Linked DNA regions of Homo sapiens: regions 2, 3 and 4 are each linked to region 1. Evidence: promoter capture Hi-C in 16 types of primary human blood cells and fetal thymus (Javierre and others, 2016). All regions are on one chromosome and are shown on one strand. The core of a region is centred on a gene start or on the middle of the fragment in contact, and the rest is flanking DNA. Distances in the headings are between cores, read along the strand shown. Region 1 holds the start of WDR27 (WD repeat domain 27). Region 2 overlaps DLL1 (delta like canonical Notch ligand 1). Region 3 overlaps PSMB1 (proteasome 20S subunit beta 1). Region 4 has its middle 40 kb from the start of PSMB1.

What was found. The method cuts DNA at HindIII sites, captures the fragments that hold promoters and counts their contacts. A CHiCAGO score of 5 or more calls a contact.
Region 2: a contact is called between a fragment that was not itself captured here and the fragment with the promoter of WDR27 in region 1, in 2 of 17 cell types (monocytes and naive CD4 T cells). The highest score is 7.5, in monocytes.
Region 3: a contact is called between a fragment that was not itself captured here and the fragment with the promoter of WDR27 in region 1, in 14 of 17 cell types (activated CD4 T cells, M1 macrophages, naive CD4 T cells and 11 more). The highest score is 13.1, in activated CD4 T cells.
Region 4: a contact is called between a fragment that was not itself captured here and the fragment with the promoter of WDR27 in region 1, in 2 of 17 cell types (activated CD4 T cells and total CD4 T cells). The highest score is 5.5, in activated CD4 T cells.

Annotation. Positions count from the first base shown.
Region 1 is chr6:169,700,522-169,703,755 of GRCh38, forward strand. WDR27 (WD repeat domain 27) reads right to left here and starts at 1,508. Exons shown (of 26, transcript NM_182552.5): 1 at 1,030-1,508. C6orf120 (chromosome 6 open reading frame 120) reads left to right here and starts at 1,605. Exons shown (of 1, transcript NM_001029863.3): 1 at 1,605-3,234. The coding sequence starts at 1,939. The coding sequence ends at 2,514. RefSeq lists enhancers at 1,062-1,141, 1,462-1,551 and a silencer at 1,602-1,971. The HindIII fragment of the contact is 12,443 bases long and covers 1-3,234 here.
Region 2 is chr6:170,279,808-170,282,612 of GRCh38, forward strand. It overlaps DLL1 (delta like canonical Notch ligand 1), which reads right to left. Exons shown (of 11, transcript NM_005618.4): 11 at 2,399-2,805. Among named protein-coding and RNA genes, the nearest start is that of LINC01624, 8.7 kb to the left of the region's middle. RefSeq lists an enhancer at 2,337-2,805. The HindIII fragment of the contact is 2,450 bases long and covers 153-2,602 here.
Region 3 is chr6:170,537,566-170,540,415 of GRCh38, forward strand. The region is part of intron 4 of PSMB1 (proteasome 20S subunit beta 1); the gene reads right to left. Among named protein-coding and RNA genes, the nearest start is that of PSMB1, 14 kb to the right of the region's middle. The HindIII fragment of the contact is 302 bases long and covers 1,372-1,673 here.
Region 4 is chr6:170,511,341-170,514,304 of GRCh38, forward strand. No RefSeq gene overlaps it. Among named protein-coding and RNA genes, the nearest start is that of PSMB1, 40 kb to the right of the region's middle. The HindIII fragment of the contact is 2,414 bases long and covers 364-2,777 here.

The DNA of each region.
Region 1 (3,234 bases), core at 258-2,757:
GCACTGCCTCTCTTCTTTCCCCACCCACTGGCTAAATGCGGAGAATTCAGAGGGCCTAAGGAAAAAAACCACAACATGGAAGAATTTTAGGCTGCAGCTTGCAGAGAGCTGCCCAAAGGAATCGTCTGACTAGAAACCGCTACACAGGACTGTGTGAGCAAGAAACATGCAACTGTTCTATTGGGGTGAATTGCTACAGCACTTAACCTACCTCCACTAATATAAATTGTTTAACATTTTTTTGAATTACAAAAGCAATACAATACAAAACATTTAAACAATGCAGAAATAATAAAGTTTTTTATCCCTACCTCCTCTCCCTGCTGTGCCAACCCTAGGGGATAATCAATGTCACAGGATATCCCCAGGAATATCCATGTACATACATGCACAGAACAAGTCAGGGAAAATAAACTAAATTTATTATTTTAGTGAGATTCTAGTGCACCTAACACTAGGTAAGCACTTCAGGAAAAGGCAGTGACAAGTGATTGCTAAAGATACCATAGTCTTAAAGTTAAGTCAGTAAACACAAGATAGTAATCCCAGATAAACTGGAAGCTGTAGAGTTAATACTCCTTTACTGGTACAGAGCAGTGTGTGTAAATTGTAGAAAATTTAGAAATACATAAAAAGATGAAAACTCTACTACTCGAGGAGTACCACTGATAAAATCCTGTGCATTTCCGTTTTTTTAATGTACATACGAATATTTTTAAAAAGAGAAAATTACTCCCTTCTGATTAGAAAAGATCGAAATTTTTCTCTTTTAGTGATAATCAAGTCAGAAACTTGCTGTTTGGCTCGAGTTAGGAAAACCTAGCCTGGTAGTTACCACGCAGGTTGAAAGGCCAGTGGGGCATAATTAACGAGCCCTCAGGGTCCACGCTCCCGCCCTCGGAGCTCAGAACCGACGGGAGGTGCAGGAGGCCGGGCATTTCTACAGCCCTGGTTCGTTCCTAAACTACTGAATCTTTTAAAGAGATCTGAGTGCTCCTTATACACAGCTGCTTTAATTAAAATAACCACCTGAGCCCTTTTCCTCCGAACTCCACATGCGCTCAGTTCTCAAAGCGCCGATCTCAAGCGGCCGCCCGGATGCTCCGGCCCGACTTGTGCCCCGAATTCCCCTGGAGACCCTCGCACTAGCACGGCGTCAGGAGGAGGCTTCGGGTGACGAGACAGCGGGCAACGGCTCTGGTCCAGAGCGCGCGTGTCCGCCGTTGGAAGCGGTCACGGCGGAACCCTCAAATCGCCCCCTTTCCTAGAGACCTCAGCGGAGCCGCGAGCAACCGCGCAGCCCCCGCGCTCCAGCCCTGCGCCCTAGGCACACGCCCCAGAGCAGCAGCTCGGGTTCGGCGCCGACTCCGCGCCGAGACCAGCCCGCTAGGGGAGGACTCACAGCACCCAGCTCCCAGGAGGGCACGCAGAGGACTACCGAGCCACACTCCGCCCCACGCTCGCCGCTATGGTTACTTGCCAGCCGACCCACGCGAGCCGCTATGGTTACTAGCCCGCCGCCCCTCGCGCCCACGCCCCTTTCGCTATCTCGCGACAGCTGGAGAAGCCTCGCTTCCGGCCGGCTCACTTACGGACCTAGCGTCACTTCCGCCTCCGGCGAGGCTCCGGCCTCGGGTCCGGATGTATAAAGCGCGGCCCCCTGCGGGGAGTGGTGGTGAGTCCGAGGGTGCCACAGCGGCCCTGCCCCTGCCCCTGCCCCTGCCCTGAGTGGGCGCCGCGCTACGGGGGAGGGGTTAACCCACCCCTCCTCCCCGGGGCCTCACGCGGGTGGGAAGGGACAGTCCCAGCGACAGACCAGGCGCCTGGACGCGCCGTGGACCCGCGTGCGGACGGCGGGGACAGGCTCCGGTGCTGAGCGCCTCCGGTGTCCCCAGCAGCACTGACCCACTTGCAGGCCCCGGAGCTGAGCCGCCAGCCATGGCCGCTCCCCGCGGGAGGGCCGCGCCCTGGACGACGGCCCTGCTGCTGCTCCTAGCCTCGCAGGTCCTGTCTCCGGGAAGCTGCGCGGACGAGGAGGAGGTCCCCGAGGAGTGGGTGCTCCTGCACGTCGTCCAGGGCCAGATAGGCGCCGGGAACTACAGCTACCTGCGGCTGAACCACGAGGGCAAGATAGTCCTCAGGATGCGCAGCCTCAAGGGAGATGCGGATCTGTACGTCTCCGCCAGCAGCCTGCACCCCAGCTTCGACGACTACGAGCTGCAATCGGCCACCTGCGGCCCGGACGCCGTGTCCATCCCCGCGCACTTCCGGCGCCCAGTGGGCATCGGCGTCTATGGACACCCCTCCCACCTGGAGAGCGAGTTCGAGATGAAGGTGTACTACGACGGCACGGTCGAGCAGCACCCGTTCGGCGAGGCCGCCTACCCCGCCGACGGCGCAGATGCCGGCCAGAAGCACGCTGGTGCCCCGGAAGACGCCTCGCAAGAGGAGGAATCTGTTCTCTGGACGATATTAATTAGCATTTTGAAACTGGTACTTGAAATTCTCTTTTGAGTCGTTGACCACACTCTGGGATATAAAACCCTCCATCTGTGAAGCTGATTGCAGTTTGCTGTGAACCTTGCTACTTGTACTTGGTTGAAGTTCTAGGTACCTTTAGTCAAGGGATGGAAAAATAAAGCCATACGCAGTTTTGTTACCTCAGTTACCCCAAAAATAGGAAAAGCAGCAAGCACAGTATTTTAAAGATCATAATTCCTATAAAAGGACTGTGCACAAAGTGTTTAGACTCCATTTTCATTAGGCAGGTTGACTAAAAATGATTGCAGTAACAGGTTTATATAAAATAGAGCAACCTTTCATGCTGTGACACAAATCAAAAGGTTGATAACTTTGTAATTTTACTCTGGAGATTCTAACCGAAGTTGGTGTAAGTTTTCAAGAGTTACTAAAATCAAGTTGGAAATGATTTACGTACACTTCCCTGAGCCTGGACTAAAGCCTCATGCCTGTACCCCAAGTAGGTGATGGTACTTTTCTATACAAAAAGGATTTCCTGGCAGGCAGGTATTTACAAAGTTTGTTCCTGTACCAGTCCAATAATGACAACTCTAAATCCAGCTGCACCAAATCTTAGTGGGCCATTTGTCATACCTATGAAAATTCTTCAGTTATTAAATAACTTTGTCAGTGCTACCTATGGTAGGCCGGAAACAATGTAGATTAGGAAGTTTCATGAAAATTAACTTTTGGGGCTATGGAGAAACAGTTAAG
Region 2 (2,805 bases), core at 128-2,627, 580 kb after region 1:
CACTCTTACCATATACAGGGCTGTATCTAGGCAGCCAGTTATTAGAATAAAAACAGAATACTATGTTCATCCGCTCAGATAATCCCTGTGTTTGGCTTCATGTTATGGTTCGAAACTCCTAGTGACATTGGTAAGAGTGAACACGAGAATGAAGCTTCTTTCATGATGAAATGTCCTGAGTGTGTGTCTGTGTGTTCTCAAATTATAGCTCACATGGATAGAGAACGTTTTCTTGCTTCAGCCTCAAGTGGGGATTGGGTTGCAGTGGTGAACCAGGGCCAACACAGCCCGCCCTCTTTGAGGTTGCAGTCTCCTGGGACACACGCCCACTAAACAAACAGCTACACGAATTAATCATGCCACAGGGCAAACTGCAAGAGCACCATCACGTGCGGCAGGTAACCCAGGCGGGTCATTTTCGTGGCGGAAGAAGGTCACACTGGAAGTCACCAGACAGATGGAAGATCCCACTCAAAGTCGCAGAGTGGGGGCGGATGGAGAACCAGGCTGCCAGGGCGCTGGCTGGAGCCGAGCGGTAACAGACCCGTGGGAGAATAACGAAACGAGGCTCCAAGACAGGCGGGAGCCGGATGGTGCATGACCTGAGAGGCCAAGTCAAGGATTTTGAACTCCACGCTAAGAGCAGCCGGAAGCCGTTCGCTGGCGCCAGCTGAGCACATGCGCAGAACCGTGCCCTGAAAGGCACCGTCCCCTGCAGACGGGAGGAGGTGCTCCCAGCACTGCTGCAGACGCTGCCGTTTCCCTTTCAAGGACTCAGCAGAGTGGGCAATCACCTAGGCGCGCCACCAGCGAGCCTGAGACTCTGCTACCAGCGTCCTTGACCGGACTCCCGCTCTCCACCCAGTTTAATTGGCTTGCTTTTGGCCTTGTAAGATTTCTCATCTGCGATGTGCGTATGCAACCACAGCAAGCCTCCCTCAGATGCATTCTGCTGTGGGTCACGTCACAGACACGGCGGTCCATACACACCCGGAAACTGTCGTGTTTGCGTGTGCGTGTATTCACTGTATGGTCCGGCTTAATGCTTTTGCTTATGGGAAGTTTCAAACGTGTACGAAAGAGGAAAGAACACGGAAGTGAGCGCCCCCATGGGCCACTCCCAGCTGCAGCGACCCCCAGCAGTGCTCGTGGGACTCCCCGTGCCACCGTGCCCGCGGCGGGGGGCTCCGAATCAGTCCCAGGCCTCGTATTGTTTCATCCATAAATATTTCAGAATTTTCTCTAAAAGATAAGGTCTCTTTTTAAACTGAACAGTAATAACACATCACATCTAAACTATTTAGCAGGTGCACTTTAAAATCATGTGGATATCCCAGTCAGCGCTTACATGTCTCCAGTGGGTTCATAAAATTTTTAAACTGTTTGAAACAGGAACCAGATCCAGACGCTGCGATGGATTGATATGTCCGTGTCTCTTTGTATCTATGGGTTCCCCCTCACCATTTTCTTGTTTTTTCCTTGCAATTTATTTGGCTACAGAGTTCCCTGGATTCGGCTGCGCAGATGCGTGGGGCGTCGAGGAAGGAGTTTTCAGTCCCGTGTTTCCGTAACTGGTAATGAGACTGAGAGCTGTCATCGGATTCAAGCTCAATGTTCTTAGCAAAACACTTCTCCTCTTTGCTGGTGTTGCTGGCCTGGCATTTAACGTGCCCTTAATGCAAGGAGGAAATGCAAGCGGAGTCGGGTCTGAGGGGAGTGAGCGCCAGTGCCTCCGCGCAGCTCCTGCTACATCGGTCGCCCTCTTTCCATCCTGGGAACCGCTCAGCGCTTTGAGGTACGCGCAAGTTAAAAATGCAATCACTACCATAAGGAACCCGGGCTTAGCGGGGGGCAAAGCGGCAAATGAGGGGTCAGCCCACAGGGAGCCCGTGCGGTCCTGCTGAGCCAGCAGGCGGGACGCGCTTAGAGACGGGGCTGCCCACCGACGGGAAGCGGAGGAGCAGCTTCCGTGACTCCCACGCCCCGTCTGGGGCCATGTTGGCGTCAAACGGCGACAAAATCATGACAGCTGTGACCCACTGGGTACAAAATAACTCACAAGTCTACACTGACATGAATGAATGAATGAATGAATGAATGAATGAATGAATGAGGAACGCTCATTCTTTCTGCGGAAAGAACTAATAAATGCATGGGGGGATGGAATTAGAAAATCGCGGCTGCTTCATGCGCGTGCCTGCTCTTACCAAGTCACCTCATGATGGCCAGCAAGCAGCTTCCTGAGGGAGGAGAGGAACGGGCTGCTTCTCATGGATCCAGGGAAACCAAAGCCTTGAAAAGAGAAACACCAAGGCCACCTCTGCCCTCAGCCTCGCGGGCCGCAGGTGAGTGAGCACACCTCCGCTCTAAGGCAAAGCCAAGTAACTACGCCTTCTGGTTGTCATTCATAAAATTTATTTTGGAAAAATATTTTAAAAAGGAATTTCTTCATTAACAAAACAGTAAAAAACTCAAATAACATTTGCACAATATTCCATAAATACATTTATATACAAAAAAATATAGTCACATAGACCCGAAGTGCCTTTGTACATATTTACCAAAATTTAAATTATAAAAAACGAACATCACAAAATACTCAAGCTTTACAGATATCATGAAAAATATTTTTACAAATCCAAAAAATAACACACATCTTTTCCATCTAGAAAAAGCACATCTTCGTATCAAAAAGGACAATAAAGGCAGTGTTTGTGTTTCTAATTCAAGAAAAGACTGGCTCATAAGAATCCAAAATATACACTCAGGCAGTGCATGCTTCTTATGCGTAATTCAGTTCACCCA
Region 3 (2,850 bases), core at 273-2,772, 840 kb after region 1:
GCAGACAGCCCCAATCCCCGTGTTGGTGTGTTGTTCAAGGGTAAACTGTAGGCTTGGGAGTTAAAATACAATATTGAGTAACACAGAAAGGGTGGGTAAGAGGGAGAAAGGCATTTTTATGATCTTCAGGTAAAGATGACAAGAGAATTAACCACTGCAGATGTAAAACAGTTGGAAGCCATGAGAATACACAAAAATAATCCAAGCCATGGTAGTAGGTAAGGACCCGTAAGAGAGTAGGGAGAACACAGAGAGAGATGGTGAGGTTTCTGTAGGACACATCAGCCAAACTCAAACAGTCATTTGTAAGAAAGTCTTTATTTCTTGGCTCTCCTAAGCTAACGAAGAGGAGAACTTGAAGGAAAGCACGACTTATGTATATAGACAGGTCCAAGGGACACATCCGCAAGACACAGTAAAACGAAGAGAATTCTGTAACCTGTAAAATACGATACTGCTTTTGTTTAAAAGAATAAGAAAACTATTTGTACAAGCACAAAAAAGTCTGGAAAGATAAGTAACTGTGGCTGGTCATCTTTGAGCTCTGAATTAGAGGCAAGAAAAGAAGGGAATTAATTCATGTGCTTCTATCTTATTTGAGTTTGTTACAAAGAACACAGGTGATTCTACAATCGTTAAAAAGGCCTGTTAAAAACAACCGTGTTCTGGGTATGAGAAATCACGAGTCATTTACAAGGTATGATTTTTTAAAAACATAACTGATTTAGAAAACACATTATATACCAGAACTCAGTACCCTGGGAGATGTGATATAGGGACAATCTCCTTACTAACCATGTACAACTGCCACTGTTAGCTTTGTATGTTTTCTACTATAGAACTGCGTAAACTTGGCCAGGCGCGGTGGCTCACGCCTGTAATCCCAGCACTCTGGGAGGCTGAGGTGGGCCGATCACGAGGTCAGGAGTTCGAGATCAGCCTGGCCAACACAGTGAAACCCCATCTCTACTAAAAATACAAAAATTAGCTGAGCATGGTGGCACGTGCCTCTATTCCCAACTACTTGGGAGGCTGAGGCAGGAGAATCGCTTGAACCCAGGAGGCGGAGGTTGTGGTGAGCCGAGATCATGCCACTGCACTCCAGCCTGGGCAACAGAGCGAGACTTGGTCTCAAAAAAAGAAAAAGGATTGTGTAAACTGAATTCTCTGGTGGAGAAGGCACCATCTGAGGTCACCTAAGAAACTGGGAAGTATTTTTGCTGGAAGCAAGCTTGGGACAAGACATGAGATCACAGCAGGCAATCCACTAACCTCAATATACAAAAAAAGAAAGAGATGTAAGGTGTAAAGGCAGAAAAATGATTGTATCTCTCATGAGGATGACAGGCCACAAGTAAACTGAGGCCCAAAAGCTTTACCCAAGGATGGAACCAATCTCAGAAAACCACACACAACAAATTTAAAAAAATAAACCAAAGAAAGGGTGGGCTATGTCCAAGAACACAGCTTTAAAGACCCCCTAGAAGAAGCAAGAGAGACACTAGTAAAATCAGTATAAAACAGCAAAAATCAATAAATAAAAACAAAAATAAATGTAGAATGGCATGAATCTTGATTACAAAGTGCTTTTCCTCATCAAAGTAAAATCCAAAAAGCACAATCATTTCAATGTAAAAAATAAAATCAGACAAGTCTTAAAAGAAATACAGCTAAGCTTTGGATGGGAGAAGTTTTTCTAACAAGGCAAGAAACTGAATGTCATAAAGAAATGATTGACAGATTAGACTGTATGAAACACAGCAATTTCTGTGTAGCAAAAGGCACCACCCAAAAGAGACAAATAACACTCTTGGGAGTATCTATAATATCACAGACATTTGACACAGTCGAATGTAGTTCTTGAAAATCAGTAAGAAGAAAACTAACCTGCAAATAAGGAAATGGGCAACAGTTAATATATGAATCAGTCTCCAAAGAGGAAATTTATAAAGTCAATAAACATATGAAAACATGCCCAAGAATATATATAAATGAAAATAATAAACTGTTCAATAGGCAAAAAGATGTTTCAAAATGTGTTAATTCTAATACTGGGAAGGTTATATAAAATCGGGTACTCAGGGTACTGGCGTATCCTTCAGAAAGAGTATACTCAACAAAATACAAAAAAAAATTTATCTGACCCAATACTTCAACTACTCGAAGTTTATTCTAGCAAGACAAGCATAATTGGGGAAGTACACAAAAATGTATGTACAAGGATGTTCATCATAGTGTTTATATTAAGAAAACAGGAAGCCAAAATGCCCTTTAGAGGACTGGTTAGGTAAATGATGCTATGTATTACAGCAGCAAAAACAGAAGACAAAAAAATTTTTTGTTAATTAAATACAAAAATCATTATGCATATAGCTTAGATCTCCTTGATAATACATAATGTATAGTTACAGAAAAACAGATACCAAAGTCCTACTTACATAAAACTGCATGAGTGTATGTATAAACATGTACTGATTGTTTTCACTACAGAAAAACTAAAGCCACTTTTAATTTGGGAGAAAAATTTTTAAAAGGCATGAGAGCAGCTAAGAGATTAAAGACAGAGAGGTTAGTGCAGACAGCGGTTGACACCAAGGGAAAGAGCTGTGGACCTTGCTGTCCTGAAGGTTTCAATATGGAGCACTGCTCTCCAGGTCCCTGCATCCACCAACACAGAAGACAGTAAAGGAAGTCTCCTGAGACATTAGCAGAGGCTCTGGACTTAGGGGACCAGGCTCTAGAGTGGCAAAGGGTAGGAGCAAAACACATGAAATGGAAAGTTGATGTAAACAAAACACAGACCTTCAGCCCCCTTCCTCCTCTGAGGCCTAAAAAGCTGCCAACCGGGCT
Region 4 (2,964 bases), core at 321-2,820, 810 kb after region 1:
TATACCCATGTGACAAACATGCACATGTTCCTCAATCTAAAATAAAACCAATGCAAATGCACGCCGACATGTGATTGACTAACTTATTCTACTAGACTGTGGGCTATATCACTTGAGGTCTGTCATTTGTACTGTGGGGTTTACATCAATGATAGAATCTTTAACTTTCTAGTTCAACACTTTTACCAAAGCAACATACTTTCACAAGTTTGACAGTCTCAAATTATTGCCAAAATTTTGCCACCCAGACTCGGATTTCAGAATATGTCTGAATTCATACATTCATTACCAAAATTGTAGATATATATTAACATCATGGGAAACTGAGAAAAATTATAGCTCAGTCATTTCCTCTTGAAACTAAGCTTTACAAAAAGAGAAAAATTTGAGTTCAAATCTAATCTAAAATTTGAATTCAAATGGCAGCTGGCAAAAATCGAGTTTTCTTAGCTCTAAGAATCTCTTCTTATACTACGACTACAATGCTTGAAATGTGCAACCTCTTTGAGCTGGGGCAGTCTGGCTATGGAGACAGGGCAGTCTCCACTCTACCTGTCCCGAACACTGGATCATGTGCGGCCTCATCACCTGCATTCTGATGGCCAGTGAGCATCACTCTCATTTTCCTGCAGGTGCGGTGGGGGTTGTGGGTACTTCGCATCCTCAGTAAGAGAAGACCATGTATGAACTATGAAGCCAATGATCATTGAGACCTCCAATACCTTTCATTCTAAAAAGTCCTTAAGAAGGTGGGATCAGTTAGGCAAGAAAATACCGCCACAACACAAAAGTTTAGACGTGTGAAACAGTGAAGGAACTTGAGTGTTAGAGTTACAAATAGTTTGTTAAGAATATTTATTGAATGCCTATTATACACTTGATACTATGTAGATGCTGGGAATACACTGATATATGGAACACATAGTTTCTTCCCACATGGAATTTATCATCTATTGTCCGAGAGAGATCAAGGAAATTAAAAACTAATAAAAATGCAAATGGAGTAATGTTATAAAGGAGACAAACAGGCTAGGCCACAGTGAACAATGGAGTATGGAACCTATTTCTTCTTAAAAGGAGGACTAGGAAGGTTGCTCTTTGGAGGCGCAACAAGTACTGACAGGTGAGAATGAGGAGCCATGCATGAATGAGCATGCAAGGTTGACACACCAAACTGGCCAAAGCCACTGAGAGAAAATAACTCTATAGGTTCAAGGGAAAAAATGAGGTCAGGGGAGCTGGAGGACGGTGGTCAGTGGGAGAGGGGCATGAAATGAGGGAGGAGAGGCGGCTGAGGGGGAAACACACACAGAGACCACACATGCATTAACTACCTGCAGGAGGGACACACACACACACGCAAAAACCACATATGGATGATTCACCTGGAGGGGATGCACACACAGAGACCACATGTGGATGAGCCATGTGGAGGGTACACACACACACAGGGGCCGCACATGGACAACCCATGTGGATGAGCAACACAACACAATGGAGAAATTGGTATGATTCCATATGCTTTAAGAAGGTCATTCTGGCTGTTTGGTGAGATTGGTGGGGGAATAGCTAGATAAATTAGTGCAGTGGCTATCCGAATGGCCCAGACCTGTGCAGATGATAAGTTAAATGATGGTTACTGAAGACGACAAGATGTGGTTGAGTCTGAGATATGTATGGTAGGTAGAACTGACAAGATCTGTACTGGACTAGATGTAAGGAATGAAAGGAAAGCCATTCAGGTCTATAGTGTGAGCAACTGATGAAAGGGCACATGAAGAAGACTCCTGGATGAACAGATTGTAGGAAAAGCTGGATACCAACATTCACTTTGGGACATGTTTCTATTGGAGAATCTCAGTAGTGATGTTATAGTCATTGAATATTTTAGTCTAGGATTCAAAGGATAGGTTTAGTCCAGAAATATAAATTTAGGACTGATCAGCATATAGATGACATTTAGTATCATGGGGCTGGTTGAAAAGCTAGGGAGAGAGTGGAAGGAGACTGAGCCTTGAGAAATGGCCACAACTAGAAGTTGGCTAGAGAAAAAGAAAGTGTACAGAAAACTGAGTAGCAGCTAATGAAACGGGAGAAAACTTCAGAGAATGTGGCATCACCAAAGCTAAGAGAATAGACTGTTTCAATCAAGAGAATTATCATGCTATTTGGCCACAAGGAGATCACTTGTACCTTGACAAGATCATTTTAGTGTAGTGGGGACAAAAGCCAGATCAGAAAGCAGGAAAGGATGGAAAGAAGTGGGATCAGCATTTATAGACAACATTTATGAGAGGTTTGACTATGAAAAGAATTAGCTAGAGGGTACAATAGCTAGAGGGTAATTAGGGAACAAGGGAGGCTCTCTTATTTCTTTATAATGGGAGGTAATAAAGCATATTAGTTACTGGTGAGGATGATTAAATACTAATGAAAGATCAATAGCACACAACAGAAAGGAAAAGAAAGAAGTTCTAGACAATGACCCCATGAGAGGGAATGGGATCAAAATCTCCTGTGAAGGGTTTGATTTTTGTTAGTAGGGGAGACCTTCTCCAGTTTTATCTGGATGGAATAAAGAGCAAAAGGTGCAGGTAGAATTACAGATTTGGGAGTGAGAATACGAAGGAGGTCTATTATGATATTATAACTTGTTTCAGTAGAGTATCAAGCTATATGGACAGTACTTAAGTGAAAGATGAAGCTGAAAAGATAGGCAGGGGTTATATCATACAGGGCCTTACCTGCCATGGTAAGGAGTGTTTTAGGTGCTAGGAAGCTTTTTAAAAACCAATGAAGGTATAATAATAAGAAAACAAATGACCCATTATAAAAATGATTTAAAACATAATTAGTCATTAGGGAAATACAAATTGAAACCACAATGTAATATTACTGTACACCTAGCAAAATGGCTTTAATAAAACTCTGACAATGTCACATGTTGATGGGAGAGTGAAACAA